3 separate regions of the Homo sapiens genome follow, and regions 2 and 3 are each linked to region 1. The links are contacts of gene promoters, found by promoter capture Hi-C in blood cells and fetal thymus (Javierre and others, 2016). All regions are on one chromosome and are shown on one strand. The core of a region is centred on a gene start or on the middle of the fragment in contact, and the rest is flanking DNA. Distances in the headings are between cores, read along the strand shown. Region 1 holds the start of MRPL33 (mitochondrial ribosomal protein L33). Region 2 overlaps BABAM2 (BRISC and BRCA1 A complex member 2). Region 3 overlaps BABAM2 (BRISC and BRCA1 A complex member 2).

Region 1 (3,158 bases), core at 257-2,756:
TTTTGAAATACAAGTTTGGTAGTTCTAGTCTCTCTGGTACAGCATGGAATCTTTAATCTTGGCTATTTTTGAAATGCTTATACCATGAATGCAAAGGATTACAAAACTCATTAAAACAGACTATGATTTAATCAAAGCAGAGTTTGTTCTTCTGGATTCCCGTAGTGAGCTCCAGACACATGGCCCCTGGTCCTCGATTTGAGGAAATGGAAATATGGTGGTAGTCCAAATACAGCACAGCCCAATGGTTTGTTTAGAAACAGACAGTGAGCTCACAAATCCTGGGACTAGAAAAGCAGCAAAGGTTCCTTCAAGTATTTCAATGCTCACAGAAGTAGCTCAGTTCAGCAGGAGGGAAAATATTTTTGAAAGAGTTCATAAAGAAAAAATAATCAACTAAGTAATCCACAAACCAACTCTTAGGAAATCAAGGCCCAATGCTTAATTTCATATAAGGATGTACTGGGAGCAGCTAGACTAACAAATCCAACATAAACAAGTGACGTTTAAAAAAGGAAAAATCTTTACTTACTTTGACTTGCTCTTGGCAACTTTTTTGTAGACAGGAAGGGTTGGAAAAGAAAATAAAAATATAAATGTATTCTCTTTCTTATGCAAAGTTCATATAAATATCAGTAATAACCAAAAATATTTAACTTATGAAATATGCCATGAGGTGTCACTCAAGTAACTATTCCCTATCTATTAGGGATCCCCTTAGGATTTTATAGAAGGAAGGTTAAAAGATCCAATCAGACCAACACAATTCTAGATTTAATATTTTGCATAATTTCATGACTGTTGGACTGGCTACCTTTTAAATCTTTCTAAAGTAATACCTGCTCCATTTTTTCCCTCTTCTAAGGTGCAAGTATTCGCGCTGCAGCAAGCTTCTTGTTTGACAAGTTTAACCTTTGCAAATTACAACAACCATCACATGTGGTGAAAACCAGATACTAAATCTAACTGGGAAGTCAGCCAAGGGTAAAGAAGAGCACTGACTCGGGAGCCCGAGGACTTCTTTAACTGCCCTGCCGCATTACTCAGGCAATTCATTGCCCCTCTCGGGAGCGGTTTCCTTATTTTTAGAGTTCGAAATAGGTGGGCTGCAAATTCTGAGGTCCTTCGGACAAAGATTCTCCTAACACGGGCTGGAGAAAAACGCCCCACAGCCAGACTCAACGGTCCGTGAGGACGGCAATTGAATCCAGACACCGCAGACCCCTTCTCAGGCACCCACAGGTCCGCGCAGGGAGGCGCGCCGCGGGGCATGCCGGACGCTGTGGTCCTGAAGGCCTGGAAAAGTACGCAGCTGCAGCTTCCCGTCCTGTTCGCACATCCTTCCCCGCATCATTCCGGGGCCCTGCCTGTCACGGCCCCCTAACCCTCGCCGTAACCCCTACCGGCGTCTCCAGCCCCACTTACAGAAGACCGCGGAGAGGAACATGGTGACCACACCTGGGCAGTCTCCGTCACCGGCCAAAAGGCCCCCAACCAACAACAACTGCTTCCGGGGCACGGCCCGGTTCTGGAAGAGGACATCCGGCAGTCGCCCGAGGCCACGCCCCCCGCCTGGAACCTGCCTCCAGTCGTCTGGCTCGTTCCTCGGTTTCTCAGAGCGAGTGTGTTTTGCTTTTGTCGTGCTGGAGGTTGGAATCCTCATCATTCTGGAAAGGGATTTACAGCTCAGGGTTCGCGCCCCGGCCCTGACTCCTATTTCTGGGTCAAGTGCTTTCAGCGTTAGGTGCTTTCCATATTTGTTTCACGAAATAATCGCAACCACCTGCATTAGACCCACAAGAACAACTGTGTATTGTACTTCGGCCGCTCCAGCGTATCAGCCCCTCGCATATTTTCTTAAAATGTTGCCTCCCCCGACCCAACTCCCTCTCCGCCTGGTTAAGCCTTACTCTCACTCTTCTGAGTCCCTTCGGCATTAAGAACCCCACCTTTCCTTAGTTATCCCAATCTCTAGGAGGGCAGGACCCTTTGCATCTCAAACTTCTGTATCCAAACACCTAGCACAGTTCCTGACATAGAAGCCAAATAACAGATTGAGAGCATTCACATCACGTGCCTAATATCACAGAACTACCAGGTGGCAGAGTAAGAATTTAAACCTAGATTTTATCTGACTCCAAAGACTCATGCCTTTCCCAGTAGACATTGGGACCTACCAGTTTGCAATCATTAATTTTTCATGGCTCTGTAAGGAACCTGGGCTCCTCTAACACCAAGGACCTCGTCAGTAACCTCATTTCGCAACTAATAATCAGGACTTTTGGATTTTTTTCCTAATCCGTGATTTGTATCTACATATGAAGTCTTACAGATGTGAAATAAGATTTAATCGCATGGCTCACGCCTGTAATCCCAGCCCTTTGGGAGGCTGAGGCAGGCAGATCACTTGAGGTCACGAGTTTGAGACCAGCCTGGCCAACGTCGCGGAATCCCGCCTGTACTAAAAATACAAAAATTAGCTGAACCCGGGAGGCGGAGGTTGCAGTGAGCCGAGATAGCGCCACTGCACTCCAGCCTGGGCGACAAAGTGAGACTCCGTCTCAAAAAAAAAAAAAAAAAAAAGTAATAAAACTGTTTTAAAGAAAATTCAGCTCTCTGTGCCATCACAAAGAAGATGAGGAGGAAAAAAATCAGCTCTCCATACAATACAATTCAATTTTTTAAATTAAGACCGTCCTTCTCCTTAGTACCTATAATACTTTTTTTCCTTCTAATCATTCTTGATATTTATCTTCCCATAACCGGACTCCAGCTACTGAGTACCTTCCAGGTGCCGAAATCCTTCCTTACCTTGCATTGGCAAAAAAGAGCTTCAGATGTTCAAGAGGATAAGGTTTCTTATATTTCCTTTAGAGGATTTATAAGAAAACACAAGACTGGAAGCCAAGGAACATGATTTCTAGTCCTTGTTCTGTCCCTTAGAAAGTCACTTTAACTTTAGCCCAGCCAAATAGCAGTTCTTAAACTCCATGCCCCTGCCCCCAACTCTATTCTCCTTACTCTTCTTTATGTTTTCCTACAGCACTTATTGCCATTAATAGTATTACTTGTGTACTTGTTGATTTCCCTATTGTCTTTGGCTACCAGAATGCTGGGCAACAGCAAAACCCTGTCTCTAAAAAAATTTTTTTAATTAA
Region 2 (3,158 bases), core at 290-2,789, 530 kb before region 1:
CTGTTTATGTAAGAAATTGCAGGCTGGGCGTGCTGGCTCATGCCTGTAATCCTAGTGCTTTGGGAGGCCAAGGCAGGTGGATTGCCTGAGCTCAGGAGTTCAAGACCAGCCTGGGCCACATGGTGAAATCCCGTCATGCCTGTAATCCTAGCACTTTGGGAGGCCAAGGCAGGTGGATTGCCTGTGCTCAGGAGTTCGAGACCAGCCTGGGCAACATGGTAAAACTCCGTCTCTACTAAAAAAAAAATACAAAAAATTAGCCTGGCGTGGCAGCGTGTGCCTGTAGTCCCAGCTACTTAAGAGGCTGAAGCAGGAGAATTGCTAGAACCTGGGAGGTGAGGTTGCAGTGAGCCAAGATAATGCCACTGCATTCCAGCCTGGGTGACAGAGTGAGACTCCATCTCCAAAAAAAAGAAAAAAGAAATTATAAGAAATCTATTTAAAAAATCTATTAGATTTTAGTAGTAATAAGTGAATTTAGCAATGTCACAGGATGCCATGTCAGTATAGAAAAATCATTTGTATTCCTGTATACCAGCAACAAACTAGAAAATAAATTTTTAAAAATTTTGTTTATATTTTTATATATTTATAAATATTTTATATTTATATTTTTATATAATTTACAATAAAAGCAAAAACAGGTGGAATGCAGTGGCTCATGCCTGTAATGCCAGCACTTTGGGAGGCCGAGGCGGGTGGATCACCTGAAGTCAGGAGTTTGAAACCAGACTGGCCAACATGCCAAAACCCTGTCTGTACTAAAAACACAAAAATTGGCCGGGCATAGTGGCGGGCGCCTGTAATCCCAGCTACTAGGAAGGCTGAGACAGGACAATCACTTGAACCTGGGAGGTGGAGGTTGCGGTGAGCCAAGATCATGCCATTGCACTCCAGCCTGGGTGATAAAAGCAAAACTTTGTCTCAAAAAAATAAATAAAAATACAAAAATTAGCTGGGTGTGGTGGCACACGTCTGTAGTCCTGGGTACTCAGGAGGCTGAGGCACAAGAATCTTTTGAATCTGGGAGGCAGAGTTTGCAGTAAGCCAAGATTGCGCCACGGTACTCTAGCCTGGGCAACAGAGCAAGACTCTGTCTCAAAAAAAAGAAAAAGAAAAACATTTAAAAATATTTCAAGATTTCTACATTGAAATATTTTAAAAATTTCTGAGAAACTAAAGACCTAAATAAAACCATGTTCATTGATTCAGTATTATAAAAGATTCAGTATTGTAAAAATGTCAATTCTTCCCTTGTTGATCAGCAGGCTTTTGGTGGGGGGGGCGTTGGAGTGGGGAGAGGTGGGAATTGGCAAGCTGATTCTAAAAGATATATAAAAATGCAAAGGACCTAGAATAGCCAAAACAATCTTTAAAAAGAACAAGCTTGGATACCTTTCCTGATTTCAAGAAATATTGGTATACCTTTCCTGATTTCAAGAAATATTGGTATACAAACCTATCAATGGAACAGAATAGAGTATCCAGAAATAGATCCACTCACATGTGGTTAATTGACTTTTGACAAAGATGTAAAGGTAATTCAACAGGGAAAGAAAAGTATTTTCAACAAATGGTGTTGTAATATCTGGATACATATGAACAAAAAATTAACCTTGGCATCTACCTCATATCATATACAAAAATTAATTTGAGATGGATCATAGGCCTATGTATCAAAACAAAAGCTTCTAGAAGAAAACATAGGATAATTTCTTCATGACCTTCTAGTAGGCTAATAATTTTGAGTATACAAAGAGCATTAACGTAAAAAACAGATTTCATTTAAAAAATGAAGATTTTCTGCTCATCAAAAGACACTCTTAAGAAATGAAAAGGGCAGGAATAGTGGCTCACACCTGTAATCCCAAGATTTTGGGAGGCTGCGGCGGGAGGATCAAGGATCACTTGAGCCCAAGGGTTCAAGACCAGCCTGGGCAACATAGCGAAATATTGTCTCTATTAAAAAAAGGAAAAAGAAAATGAAATGGCAAGCCACAGATTGAAAGACGATACTCACAAAAAATATATCTGACAAATATATAAAGAAACTCATATATACAACTCATTAATAAAAAGACTAACAACCAAATTAAAAATAGGCAAGATTTGAACAGACATTTCATGAAAGAGATAAACCAATAAGCACATGCCAAGATGCTCAACATCATTTATCACCAGGAAATGTAAATTAAAAACATGAGATCTTACTTTATCCTCTCTAGAATGGTACAATTTAAAAAGACTGACAATAGGATGTGTTGGTGAGAATGTGAAGCAACTGGAACCCTGGCATATTGCTGATGGGAGGGTAAACCGATACCACTTTAAAAAAGCTTGTCACCTTCTCATAAAGTTAATCACATATGTACTCCCACTCCCAAGTATTTACCTGAAGAAAGGAAAACACATGTCTACAAAAAGGCTTGGTCATAGCAGCTCTATTAATAAAATCCTCAACCTGGAAACAACACAAGTATCTACACATGGGTGAATGGATTAATACATTATATTCATATAATAGAATATTACTCAGCAGTAAAAAAGAAATGCCATAACAGATACATTTTTTTTTTTTTTTTGAGATGGAGTCTCGCTCTGTCACCCAGGCTGGAGTGCAGTGGTGTGATCTTGGCTCACTGCAACCTCCGCCTCCTGGGTTCAACAGATTCTCCTGCCTCAGCCTCCGGAGTAGCTGGGATTATAGGCTTGTGCCAGCATGCCCTGCTAATTTTTGTATTTTTAGTAGAGATGGGGTTTTCCCATGTTGGCCAGACTGTTCTCGAACTTCCTACCTCAGGTGATCCGCCCGCTTCAGTCCCCCAAAATGCTGGGAGAACAGACGTGATGACTGCTCCCGGCCACCATAACAGCTAAATCTTAAACAATTATGTTGAATGAAATGAAGATAAATTTCATTGTGTCAGACACAAAAGAGTATGATCTGTATTATTTCATTTAGAAGTATCTAAAAGAAAAAACTAAGACAGGGTGATACAGAACAATAGTTGCCTTGAGAGTAAAGAGACTATTTGGAAAGAGGCTATAAGGTAACTTCGTCAAAACTTGTCAAAAGATATACTTAAAACCTGTCCACTCCATTGTATATAAATTATACTGTAATTTTAAAAAAAGATATATATGCAAAGCCATTTCCT
Region 3 (3,158 bases), core at 268-2,767, 510 kb before region 1:
GAGGGAATGCGGGGGATCTGGGTAGACGGAATACAGGCTGGAGGACAGAAGCTGGAGCAGAGAGGCTCTGGATAAAGATTGCAAACTGTGGAGTGCTCTGAACACATAGTGAAGGACTGTGAACGTCTTTCTATGAGCATTACCCTTGAACATTTCTAGGGAAAAAAGCTCACACCACTCATTCCAGTGTGGCAGACACTTTCCTATAATGCCCCCAGCATGGTACAATCCTCTAGAATGGAGAATGCTTTGGAAAGTATGTACAAATCAAAAATAAGGCCAGGCGCGGTGGCTCACGCCTGTAATCCCAACACTTTGGGAGGCCGAGATGGGTGGATCACGAGGTCAGGAGTTCGAGACCACCCTGGCCAACATGGTGAAACCCTGTTTCTAATAAAAATACAAAAATTAGCTGGGCGTGGTGGTGCCTGCCTGTAATCCCAGCTACTCAGGACGCTGAGGCAGGAGAATTGCTTGAACCCAGGAGGTAGAGGTTGCAGTGAGCCGAGATTGTACCACTGCACTCCAGCCTGGGTGACAGAATGAGACTCTGTCTCAAAAAAAAAAAAAAAAAAGTTATTATTCGTTAGTAGAAGGGGGTGACTATTTACTTCTCAGTATAGGAACCAATTCCTCTCTACAAAACATCTCTTAAGACTTATCAGCCGGTGTGGTGGCTCATGCCTGTAATCCTAGCACTTTGGGAGCCTAGGCGGGAGGATCGCTTGAGCCCAGGAGTTTGAGATAAGCCTGGGCAACATAGCAAGATCCCGTTTCCATTAAAAAAAAAAAAGACTTATTTGCACATCTCTTATGTTCAAGGGAGATGCTGAGTGGAAGGCTTGATAATGGACTTACTATGTGAAAAATCCAGAGAGTCAGGCCTGAAGTTTGGGATTGGATGTAAGGCTGACACAGGACACAGTTTAAATCAAATATCTGGCAGAAGGATTACATGTTTCCTCATAAGACTTGGTTAGAAGCACTGGTCACCATGTCATTCCCCCATGCAGAAACCTTCATTAACCTATTTTTATTTCTACATTATCCTTTCCAAGCAGTTTCCATGCTGGACTTATACCGTGCAGGGATATTACAATTATAGGACAATGTCTGACCCACTAGAATGTGTGGAATGGGGATATTTTCCCCAGAAATGTTAAAAAATCAGCCACTCAGTCTGCAAGATGGGTGGGGAACAGCTTATCTGGGTGAAGCCGAGTGTTGAGTGAGGAAGGCATGTGTACTCGAGGTGGGCAAGCTTTGGCAGGTGAACTGACCTCTGTGCTCCTCTTTTCCCATTCCCAAGACTGGAAAAAACTTTAAGCTCAGGGTTGGAAATGAAGCAGGTAAAGCACGCCATACAGTCTTGCACATAGAAAAGTGCTCAATAAATACAGGCTGCAACCTAAAGAACTAAGGATGGGAGGGATGGCATACTGGGAAGAAAACGGTGTTTGGAATTTGACAGATCTGGGCTTGATTCCTCCTTTGCCAGTTGCTACCTGACCTCAGGCAACTGACTATACTCTCTAAGTCTAGGTTTTCTCATCTTTAAAATGGGATAATACCTACCTTGCAAGGCTCCTGGATGGTTTACATGGTATAATGAATATATGTGCAGAATACTTGGCACATAGCAGGTCTTCATAAATGATACCTATTATTACTCACTTTTCTCTTAGAAGCAATTAAAACAGACAAACAAACCTGAGTCTATATAATTTCTTTTCCTAGCCTGATTTCCAGCTGAGAAAATACAAACCAAGCTTTCAAAACAACTTTCAAAACAAGTTGAAAACTAAGCTTTCAACTTAGTTTTGTCCATCTATTTATTTGAGGTAAATTCAGAGTCCTTTGGAACTCTTCATTTTTAATTCTACAATCTTCTTCCAGCAAATAAAAAATCATAGCTCTAGAGAATCTACGGTCAAATGGGGTCCTGCAGCCAAACCGGACCACAGATCAGAAAAAGATCTGAACAGAGAGGAAGCCTGATGAAACCTCGGTCAGACAGTTTTTCCTTTGTGCTTTGATCATGCAATATTCTCTCCATTCTCATAGGTGCTTTCTTTAAGATAAAGGCTCTTTCTTTTTTTGCTAACCAATTTATTTGTGAGTGTTTTTTTTTTTTTAAAGACCCACAATATAATCAATCTTTGTATATTTAGGATTACCTCTTTGGCCTGTGAATTGTCCAGCTTTTTGTTTTGTTTTCTTGCTACTGTTTTCTGACTAGCTCCTTGGTCATTACTTCTTCTATGAGCATGGGTGGGACAGGCAGCAGGGGAATGGAAATTAATGTTCCTCTTTGATAGCAATTCTGATTAGAAATTTCATTTGAGATAAAGGTATGATTGCTGCCTAAAATACTGTTTTTAAATTGTCATATTATTCTGAAATTTAACTAACTCAAAGAGAATAAACTGTGCAAACATAAGGTGATCATGTTGAGGCAAGCCCTTGACTTGAGTGAGTTGCCTGACTTGTACATCCAAATTTAAAGGAATAAGATACTTTTCAATCAAAGGTATTGAATCATTGTTAATCCGAAGAAAAGCATGCATATTCACAGTCAGTAAACCATTTCTGACAGCTGTGCTTTCCAGATAACTGGGGTTTGTTTTTGAAAGCTCTAAAACTTTTATTTTTCATTGTTTTTGATAAAAATCTCTATAAAATGGACCTTACATTTACTGCTCCCCTATCCCTTTCTAAATGACTCAAAGTCAAATTTAAGAATATCAATACTGATAGTGGGCCATACAATTGTGACACCAAGGCCTAATCAGACACGCCAGTCCCTAAGCTAAGTGTGGCCTATATCTGTAGTTTCCTGGTTCCCTCCACACCTACCTCCTGGGCCCAGGCTATTAGGTTACTCTTCTTGTACTCTTACAAGGTTAGTGTATCTATGTACCACAGACCTTCTCTGGGTAGTTAAACTGCAAGGGACTTGAAACAAACTAACAAGTAAACAAACAAACAAAACACAGAATGTTCCAAGGGACTTGGGAACCAGCCACCAAGTTTACTAGAAGGCGAGAGCCAGGCCTGAGGGTGAAATACAGAGAAGTGGTGACCCTCTTGAGTTACTTCCTCTGGCTATCTTTTGACAAGTGTACTTACAGGGTGTACTGTAGCTAGGTGAGACATTT

What was found. Contacts are between HindIII fragments. The CHiCAGO score rates a contact against its expected background, and 5 or more counts as called.
Region 2: a fragment that was not itself captured here is called in contact with the fragment with the promoter of MRPL33 in region 1 in 1 of 17 cell types (megakaryocytes); the score reaches 5.1 in megakaryocytes.
Region 3: a contact is called between a fragment that was not itself captured here and the fragment with the promoter of MRPL33 in region 1, in 2 of 17 cell types (endothelial precursors and M1 macrophages). The highest score is 8.1, in endothelial precursors.

Annotation. Positions count from the first base shown.
Region 1 is chr2:27,770,067-27,773,224 of GRCh38, reverse strand. It overlaps MRPL33 (mitochondrial ribosomal protein L33), which reads right to left and starts at 1,506. Exons shown (of 4, transcript NM_004891.4): 1 at 1,426-1,506; 2 at 533-551. The coding sequence starts at 1,447. RefSeq lists enhancers at 1,325-1,454, 695-1,511, 1,745-1,864. The HindIII fragment of the contact is 2,472 bases long and covers 893-3,158 here.
Region 2 is chr2:28,301,841-28,304,998 of GRCh38, reverse strand. All of the region lies in intron 11 of BABAM2 (BRISC and BRCA1 A complex member 2), which reads right to left. Among named protein-coding and RNA genes, the nearest start is that of BABAM2-AS2, 7.0 kb to the left of the region's middle. The HindIII fragment of the contact is 302 bases long and covers 1,389-1,690 here.
Region 3 is chr2:28,283,373-28,286,530 of GRCh38, reverse strand. All of the region lies in intron 10 of BABAM2 (BRISC and BRCA1 A complex member 2), which reads right to left. Among named protein-coding and RNA genes, the nearest start is that of BABAM2-AS2, 26 kb to the left of the region's middle. The HindIII fragment of the contact is 508 bases long and covers 1,264-1,771 here.